3 separate regions of the Homo sapiens genome follow, and all the other regions are linked to region 3. Evidence: promoter capture Hi-C in human tissues and cell types (Jung and others, 2019). All regions are on one chromosome and are shown on one strand. The core of a region is centred on a gene start or on the middle of the fragment in contact, and the rest is flanking DNA. Distances in the headings are between cores, read along the strand shown.

What was found. Contacts are between HindIII fragments. The study calls those that stand out against the background at their distance.
Region 1: a contact is called between a fragment that was not itself captured here and the fragment with the promoter of NINJ2 in region 3, in 1 of the 25 tissues and cell types used here (dorsolateral prefrontal cortex).
Region 2: a fragment that was not itself captured here is called in contact with the fragment with the promoter of NINJ2 in region 3 in 1 of the 25 tissues and cell types used here (spleen).

Annotation. Positions count from the first base shown.
Region 1 is chr12:1,059,325-1,062,713 of GRCh38, reverse strand. All of the region lies in intron 2 of ERC1 (ELKS/RAB6-interacting/CAST family member 1), which reads right to left. Among named protein-coding and RNA genes, the nearest start is that of ERC1, 70 kb to the right of the region's middle. The HindIII fragment of the contact is 8,518 bases long and covers 1-3,389 here.
Region 2 is chr12:1,091,554-1,094,481 of GRCh38, reverse strand. All of the region lies in intron 3 of ERC1 (ELKS/RAB6-interacting/CAST family member 1), which reads right to left. Among named protein-coding and RNA genes, the nearest start is that of ERC1, 100 kb to the right of the region's middle. The HindIII fragment of the contact is 7,005 bases long and covers 1-2,928 here.
Region 3 is chr12:661,660-664,779 of GRCh38, reverse strand. It overlaps NINJ2 (ninjurin 2), which reads left to right and starts at 1,335. Exons shown (of 4, transcript NM_016533.6): 1 at 1,335-1,452. The coding sequence starts at 1,420. The HindIII fragment of the contact is 21,671 bases long and covers 1-3,120 here.

The DNA of each region.
Region 1 (3,389 bases), core at 562-3,061, 400 kb before region 3:
GGCATTCATAGAACATTCCATGCAACAGCTACAGAATATACATTCTCCTCATCAGCACATGGAACATTCTCTAGGATAAACCATATGTTAGGCCACGAAACAAGTCTCAACAAATTTTGTAAAACTAAAATCATATCAAGTATCTTCCCAGACCACAGTGGGATAAAACTAGACATCAAAAACAAGAACTTTGGAAACTAAACACCTGAAAAACCACTGGGTCTATGGAGAAATTTAAAAGGAATTCAAAAGATTTGTTGGAAAAAAAACCGAAATAGAAACACAACATAATGACAAGGTGTGGTGGCTCATGCCTGAAATCCCAGCACTTTGGGAGACTGAGGCACGCAGATGGCTTGAGCTCAGGAGTTCGACACCAGCCTGGGCAACATGGCAAAACCCCGTCTTCATTTTCAAAAAAAGAAAAGAAAAGGCCGGGCGCATTGGCTCACACCTGTAATCCCAGCACTTCGGGGGCCGAGGCGGGCAGATCACGAGGTCTGGAGATCAAGACCATCCTGGCTAACACGGTGAAACCCTGTCTCTACTAAAAATATAAAAAATTAGCCAGGCGTGCTGGTGGGTGCCTGTAGTCCCAGCTACTAGGGAGGCTGAGGTGGGAGTGAACCCGGGAGGCAGAGCTTGCAGTGAGCCGAGATCATGCCACTGCACTCCAGCCTGGGTGACAGAGCAAGACTCCGTCTCAAAAAAAAAAAAAAAAAAAGAAGAAAAGAAGAAAAAAAAACACAACATACCAAAACCTCTGGGAAACAGCAAAAGCAGTACAAAGAGGGGGGTTTACAGCAATAAATACTTATATCAAAAAAGAAGACAGATTTTAAATAAACAACCTAGCAATGCATCTCAAGGAACCTGAAAGGCAAGAACAAACCAAACTCAAAATTAGTGTAAGAAATAAAGACCAGAGCAGAAATAAGCAAAATAGAAACCAGAGAGAGAGAAAGAGAAAGCAAGAGATGGAGATATGGAGATATGGGGGGGGAGAGAGAGATTCAATTAGATTAGATAATTAGAGAGAGACACATATAAAACATCAATGAAACAAGAACTTGTTTTGGGGATTGTTCTTGTTGTTGTTGCTGCTGTTTCTGAGACAGGGTCTTGCTCTGTCACCCCGGCTGGAGTGCAGTGGTGCAATCTCAACTCACTGCAACCTATGCCTCCCAGGTTCAAGTGATTCTCATGCCTCAGCCTCCCAAGTAACTGTGATTACTGGCATACACCACCACGCCCAGCAACTTTTTTTTTTTTTTTTTTATAGTAGAGACAGGGTTTCACCATCTTGCCCAGGCTGATCTCGAACTCCTGGGCTCAAGTGATCTGCGGACTCAGCCTACCAGTGTGCTGGGATTACAGGCATGGCCCACTACGCCCAGCCAGAAACTTGGTTTTTTGAAAAGATAAGCAAAATCCACAAACCATTAGCTAGACTAAGAAGAGAGAAGACTCAAACAAAATCTGAAATGAAAAAGGAAACCACAGAAATACAAAGAATCATTAGACGCCATTATGAACAACTATACACCAACAAATTGGAAAACCTAGAAGGAATGGATAAATTCCTGGATATATAGAACTTGCCAAGATCGGACCAGGAAGAAGCAGTGATATAGTGTACTATACCCAAATCTCAACATGAATTGTATCTCCAAGAATTCCCACATGTGGCCAGGCGTGGTGGCTCACGCCTGTAATCCCAGCACTTTGGGGGGCCCGAGGCAGGTGGATCACGCGGTCAGGAGATCGAGATCATCCTGGCTAACACGGTGAAACCTCGTTCTACTAAAAATGCAAAAAAAATTAGCCAGGCGTGGTGGTGGGCACCTGTAGTCCCAGCTACTCAGGAGGCTGAGGCAGGAGAATGGCGTGAACCCAGGAGGCAGAGCTTGCAGTGAGCCGAGATCGCACCACTGCACTCCAGCCTGGGCAACAAAGCGAGACTCCGTCTCAAAAAAAAAAAAAAAAAAATTTCCCACGTTATGTGAAGGACCCAAGGGAAGGTAACTGAATCATGGGGCCAGTCTTTCCCATGCTATTCTTGTGATAGTGAATAAGTCTCATGAGATCTGATGGGTTTATCAGGGGTTTCCGCTTTTGCTTCTTCCTCATTTTTCTCTTGCCGCCTCAATGTAAGAAGTGCCTTTTCATATACACCATGGAATACTATGCAGCCGTAAAAAATGATGAGTTCATGTCCTTTGTAGGGACATGGATGCAACTGGAAACCATCATTCTCAGTAAACTATCACAAGGACAAAAAACCAAACACCGCATGTTCTCACTCATAGATGGGAATTGAACAATGAGAACACATGGACACAGGAAGGGGAACATCACACTCTGGGGACTGTTGTGGGGTGGGGGAAGGGGGGAGGGTTAGCATTAGGAGATATACCTAATGCTAAATGACGAGTTAATGGGTGCAGCACACCAGCATGGCACATGTATACATATGTAACTAACCTGCACATTGTGCACATGTACCCTAAAACTTAAAGTATAATAGTAAAAAAAAAAGAAGTGGCCTTTGCCTCCCACCATGATTCTGAGGCCTCCCCAGCCATGTGGAACTATAAGTCCAATTAAACCTCTTTTTCTCTCCAGTCTCAGTATGTCTTCATCAGCCAGCATGAAAACAGACTAATACAAGTAGTAAACCTGAACAGAACAACACCAAGTAACAAGACTGAATCAATTTTAATAAAAAGTCTCTCAACAAAGGAAACCCTGGATCAGATAGCTTTAATGCTAAATTCTACAAAACTTTTAAAGAACTAACACCAATTCTTCTCAAACTATTCCCAAAAGCTGAAGAGGGGTAATTCTTTGTAACTTACTCTATAGGGCCAGCCAGCATTACCTTGATGCGAAAACCAGACAAGGGTACAGAAACAACAAAAACTATGGTCAATATCCCTGATGAACACAGATGCAAAAATCCTCAACAACATACTAGCAAACAAAATCCAACAGCACATTCAAAAGACAATACACCAAGACAAAGTGGGATTTATCCCAGGGATGCAAGGATGGTTCAACATACACAAAACGATAAATGTAATATAGCACATCAACAGCATGAATGACAAAATCCATATGATTATCTCAATAGATGCAGAAAAAAACATTGGATAAAATTCAACATACCTTCCTGATAAAAACTCTCAATAAACTAGGCAATAAAGGAACATACCTCAACATAATCAAGGCCACATATGACAAAGTGACAGCTAACATCACACTTAATAGGGAAAAGCTGAATGCATTTCCTCTAAGAACTAGAACCAGACAAGTATGCCAACTTTTCACCATTCTTACTCAACATAGTACTGGAAGTCCCAGCCAGAGCACTTAGGCTAGAGAAAAAA
Region 2 (2,928 bases), core at 81-2,580, 430 kb before region 3:
CTGAGATCGCACCACTGCACTCCAGCCTGGGCGATAGAGCGAGACTCTGTTGCCAAAAAAAAAAAAGAGAGAGAAGGAATAACTTAAATAAATAAGGTATGCAACTGTTCTCATCTTCCAAAATTGCTACAAAAGACAAACTAAGAATTTCTTTTTCTTTTTTGGCCGGGTGTGGTGGCTCATGCCTGTTGTCCCAGCACTTTGGGAGGCCGAGCCGGGAGGATCACTTGAGGTCAAGAGTTTGAGACCAGCCTGGCCAACAAGGTGAAACCTCATCTCTATTAAAAATACAAAAATTAGCCAGGCATGGTGGCAGGCACCTGTAGTCCCAGCTACTCAGGAGGCCGAGGCAGAAGAATTGCTTGAACCCGGGACGCGGAGGTTGCGGTGAGCTGAGATTGCACCACTGCACCCCAGCCTGGGCGACAGAGCCACACTATGTCTCAAAAAAAAAAAAAATTTCTTTTTAAATTCCTATTCATTTTCTATGTTTTTCTATATATATATATATATATATATATATAGAAAAATATATATATTTATATAGAAAAATATACATTTATATATAGAAAAATATATATTTATATATAAATAAATACACATAAACATATATATATGTTTCTTTTTTTCTTTAATCTCCTCTGCTTATACCTTCTATCTGCCAGTAATACTGACAAACTGACAAGCAGTCCTCAGATATGCTAGTTAGATTCAGAATTCCCTAGCCTAGAACATATTCAAATATTAGCACTTTTAACCTCAAAGATTTTTGCAAACCTAACACGATAGCAGTTGTACTAATACGGTTTGTTGATTAAAATACAGACAAAAAACTAGTAGGCTGCAATAATGTTTTAAAACAAAGTTGTATTTTATTAATCACAATAGCATACCAGCATTTAAGTAAGTAGGAGCACATACTGAAATATATTATTTAGTTGGCCTATAGACAATGTTTGGTATGCATATGGATTGAAGACCCAAAAATTCCACAGCCAACTTAGGTATCCTCTGCTAGCGGACTGAAAACCAAAGTTGGGGCCTCAAATGTTGGTGTATAACAGAATCACCTGTCAAGCCCTCAGCACTAACCAAGTCTTGCCTGTAATTCAGCATTTGTCCAAGAGATGTCCCCACTCTTCTAACAGTCAAATGAAAGGAGCTACAGCGAAATAATACAAAAGCTAAGAATAAGCGGTCAAACAACAATGTGATTTGAGTACAAACAGAAAATACAATGCTTCATTGAAATCTTACTTTTTACCTCTCGGCTTTTGGGGGGGAGAATTATTTACCTGCCAGCTACAAAATCATGTTAATAAAGAAAACGTAAAACTAATTACAAATGTTACTACTAATAGCTACAAATGCCATTTTAATGCTATCTTATTTCATCAAATCTAAGATGCCACTGATTATAAGACACACCACTGTTGTACATGCTGAAAAGAAATAGTGGAAATGCCTCCAAATAAATCATGACACAAAACTTTATCATAAATTTAGGGTTTTGTTTGTTTGTTTTTGAGGCAGAGTGTCACTCTGCACGCTGGAGTGCAGTGGTGCAATCCTGGCTCACTGCAACCTCCGCCTCCTGGGTTGAAGCAATTACCATGTGCCAGCCTCACAAAGAGCTGGGATTACAGGCGTGCACCACCACACTCAGCTAATTTTTGTATTTTTAGTAGAGACAGGGTTTTGCCATATTGCCCAGGCTGGTCTCGAACTCCTGGCCTCAGGCGATCCGCCCGCCTTGGCCTCCCAAAGTGCTGGGATTACAGACGTGAGCCATTGCACCCGCCCTAGAATTTTTACTTAATACTGATTGCAAGAGTTAGTTTTTTTAAACTTATTTAAACAGAGTTTAATCACATACCATCATAAACTGTTTTCATAACTTTCTCCATACCGGGTAATTTTGTTTCAATGCTGATTCACAGAATATTTATGCAGAAACACTGAACAACAAAGTTAACATGGGAAATGCCAACAATGCTCATACCTCAGCTGAAATGATGACAAAATGAATGGACATGATTATATTTGTGAATACACGGGCAAACAAATATACCAGGACTGCTGCTTTGCTGATATAGACTGTTAACATGACACCAAGTGTTAACACTTAACTCAATTTCATTGTTAAAACAGGGAAAGTTGTGACTTTTAGAATTGATTAAATGTGGGCCGGGCGCGGTGGCTCACGCCTATAATCCCAGCATATTAGGAGGCCGAGGCGGGCGGATCACGAGGTCAGGAGTTCAAGACCAGCCTGACCAACATGGTGAAACCTCGTCTCTACTAAAAACAGAAAAATTAGCTGGGCCTGGTGATGGGTGCCTGTAATCCCAGCTACTCGGGAGGCTGAAGCAGGAGAATCGCTTGAACCCAGGGGGCGCAGGTTGCAGTGAGCCGAGATCGCACCATTGCACTCCAGCCTGGGCAACAGAGCGAGACTCCGTCTCAAAAAAAAAAAAAAAGAATTGATTAAATGCCACTTTTTTTTAAAAGATGGACAATAATTCAATAACTAATGAAATTTCTGGATACCCTAGCATTGCCAGCCCATAATTCTTTGTGCTGCTTCCTGATACGCTAGTGATATTCTGTACATCTCCAGCAATCATTTCAAGTCCCCATTCCCCTAATCTAGATTACAGCAGTTAAATTCCTTACTATACTCCCTTGTTCACTCTTCTCTCCTTCCTCCATTTATTCTCAGCACAACCAGAGTAAATTTTAAAAGCAAATCAGATTGTGTCACTCCCTTGATTCAACGGTGGAATGGTTTTCTCTCCCATTTTGAATAAAATGGTTGCATTATCTGCAAGGATCATAAAGGCAGGTACTTTTTCTCAAAGACAGCATGGATTTGTTTGCTGCTATATCCTTAGTGCTGTGCGCATGGTTGGTGTCCAGTAAATACGT
Region 3 (3,120 bases), core at 86-2,585:
GACTCTGGCCTAATATCAGACATCAGCCACCAAGGCCAGCAGAAGACCCAGGAGCAGGACCTGTGTCTCCTCAGCAGTCAGCAATTCGGGCGGGCCCGTGGGCCCAGCAGCTCCAGAACAGAAAGGAGCCGAGATGGAGAGGCCACAGGATAGATGCAAGAACCGTCCCCACCCCGCCCTCCTGTGCACCTAGGTGCCATCTTCTGCAAATCCGAAAGACTGAGCATTGTGTCTAAAGTGGACTGTTTACCATTTAAATGATTAAATCCAACTATGCTTCATAGATTAGACTAAAATATGGCCCCCATCCAATCATCCAACCCTCCCTCGCACCACTGTCCAGAGGGATGGGAACTTATAAAGGCATTTCATAGAACTGAAGAAATCGCCTTTTTTTTTTTTTACATTTGAATGTGGTGAGGGTAAACGTGTTGACTCTGCCTGTCTTCCTCCTGCCCGCACCTCTTCAAGCCCTGAATTGGATTACAGGTTAACACCCTGCCATGCACGTCTACAGACATACCCACACCCACACCTGCACAAGCTTGTGTCTAAACCTTGCTTCAGGAACAAGCCAGAAGAGTTTTGGGCTCTAAGGTAAACAGGAGAGGAAAAAAAAAACTTTCTAAAAAAAGACTCCCTCCTGGTAATTTTATTTTAAAAGTAGGGAGAATACCACTGTTTGCATAAACAAGCTTCGAAGGTACAACTACTCCCTGCTCCCTCTATGGCTAATCAAGGGAGGAGTTGAAGGAATCAAACAATCCGTCAGTAAAAACGTATTGTTCACTCACTTTGCAGAACAAAGCCTATGCTTTGGAGCCTATTAGGTAAACTACAATTTTTTTAAAAACTTTTAGGGATATAGGGAACAAAGCAAAGAACAACGGAAATCCCTCTGCCTCAGTATTGAGACTGTGCTGGAGGTCACTCCACCCGTGGCGACTGGGGACTGGACCCAGCGGTGAAGTCAGATAGCGTTGTCCTCAGGCTGTTTTTCAATTTGCTTGATAAACATGCAGGATTTCTTTGCCAGTCATAAAGCTACTAGCTCAAAGCAGGCTGGGTGACCTCAGATGGCTCCGCTGGGACTGGAAGGTCACTGGAGCCACTGGTGAAAATGATGCTGTCACTACCAACTCAAAAGGTCACCTATCAGTGTGCCATGTGCCACCTCCTGGAGCACACACATGTGCACACACATACACTCACACGTGTGTGCAGGTGCACACCTCCCCCAGAGGCTGCAGCCAAGACGGGCATCCCACATCAGAGGGATGAATGGCAGGTCTGTCCCGCCAGCTGTGTGCTCTCTCCCACCCGAAGAAAGCAGCAGAGACTCAGACGGCGGAGCCTGGAGGAGCCCACGCAGTCTGTTCCCGGCACCCGGTGCGTGTGAAGGGACTTGAGGGCAGCGAGATGGAATCAGCAAGAGAAAACATCGACCTTCAAGTAAGTTCTCTCTGGAAGAGAGCAGAGGGGAGACCGGGAGTAGAGGTGAAGCTGGAAGAACAGAGGATTGATACTTTAGTCACTTGATATTCTCCCTCCCCGTTCTCTTCTTACTCACTCCCTTCTCCAAATGCTCCCTAGGCTTTGTCTCTTTATTTTCTCTTTCTCTCTGTTTCCCTATCTGGTTCTTCACTTGTTTTGAAATATCTGAAAAACAGATTGGTTAACTCCCTTTTGGCCTCTGCTTCCTCTTGTCAGTCAAAGAGCTAATTAGATCCGTATTACCAGAAAATGATTTCACATTCTGAGCAGTGCTTTCCCCAAACCCCAGGACAGTAGAGACTTCTCTTAGAGCTGCCGGGGAGACAGGAAATATATGAGTTTTGAGGCTAGGAAGAGAGGCAGCTGGCCAACTTTGCATTTTACAGGTTGGAAAAAACTTGAGCCGTTTCTCGGCTGTCTTCACAAAGCTCTACTGTGTAGGACAGAAAGCGTCTCATTTGGACAGTGCAAGGAAAGGAAATCAGTCTAATCTCCTAGGAAGAGGCAGAGATGTGTGTCCCTCTGTAGCTGGGATGGGCTTGGAAGGCATCAGAGGTTCCAGTCCACTGCTGGAGGGGAAAGGGTGGGATGTTACGGTGAGAGGAGAGCCAGATTGCTGGGAGCTGCACTCTGTGACTCCTTGCCAATGGATAGAATAGAACGAACCCTTCTATGACCACTGCTGAGGCTGTGTAACATTGCAGAGAATCAAACAAAGTGTGGAAAAGGACTTTTGAGATCAAGAATTTCTGATCCCTGAACCTGGTCCTCGAACAAAATCTTAAGCAGCCACCCAATATACACTTCGGATTAAAGAAGAGCTGTTTTGTTGAAGCAGAGTATGTGCACGCGTCTCTCTCTCTCTCTCTCTCTCTCGTTCTCTGTGTGTGTTTTGGGCAGGGTGGCGTGAGTCTGGCAGAGTCTCTGTCCTTGGCCCCTCCGCCCTTGAGACACCACCAGGGAACTGTAGGACTGCTTGGTGTGCTGTGTCAAAACCATTCACCTAGTACAACTGCATACCCAGTGCTGTTTTCCTGGATTGGCAGCCAGCCCCGAGAGCGGTCCCACCGCAAGGCTTGCTTGTCCCTCTGTCTGGAACCTTCTTTCCCTGGCTTATCTCCTGGCTGGCCCTTCCTAGTACATTCAGGTCTCAGCTCAAATGTTACTTCCCCCAGGAGCCCTCCCCTGACCAACCTCTTCACAGGATGCCTCCTCCCCAATTTGTCTTTATCATTTGTTTAATTTCTTTCATAGCACTGCTCACCACCTAAAGTTACACTGCTTATTTATTTAGTATGTATTGCCTGTCACTCTCACTAGGACACAAGATCTCTGAGGGCAGGGCCTCTCCTGTTTTATTCACTGCTGCAGCCCGAGTGCATGAGGCAACTCTTGGTACACGGTCATTGCTTTAGAAAACATTTGTTAAATGAATGAGTTGAGGAAGCCATGAGTTGGAGAGGCTCTGAGATAGGAATAAGGTCACCTAATTGGCCCAAGACCTCCAGTCCATGTCTTCTGTCCCTAGTATGTGTTTTCTTCTTACTTCTAGTTCTTGCCTCTATAAGATCCTTGGTTGTTAAGGAAATTGTGTTGCTGCTTATTTTCATTCTCAGAAGAGCAAGT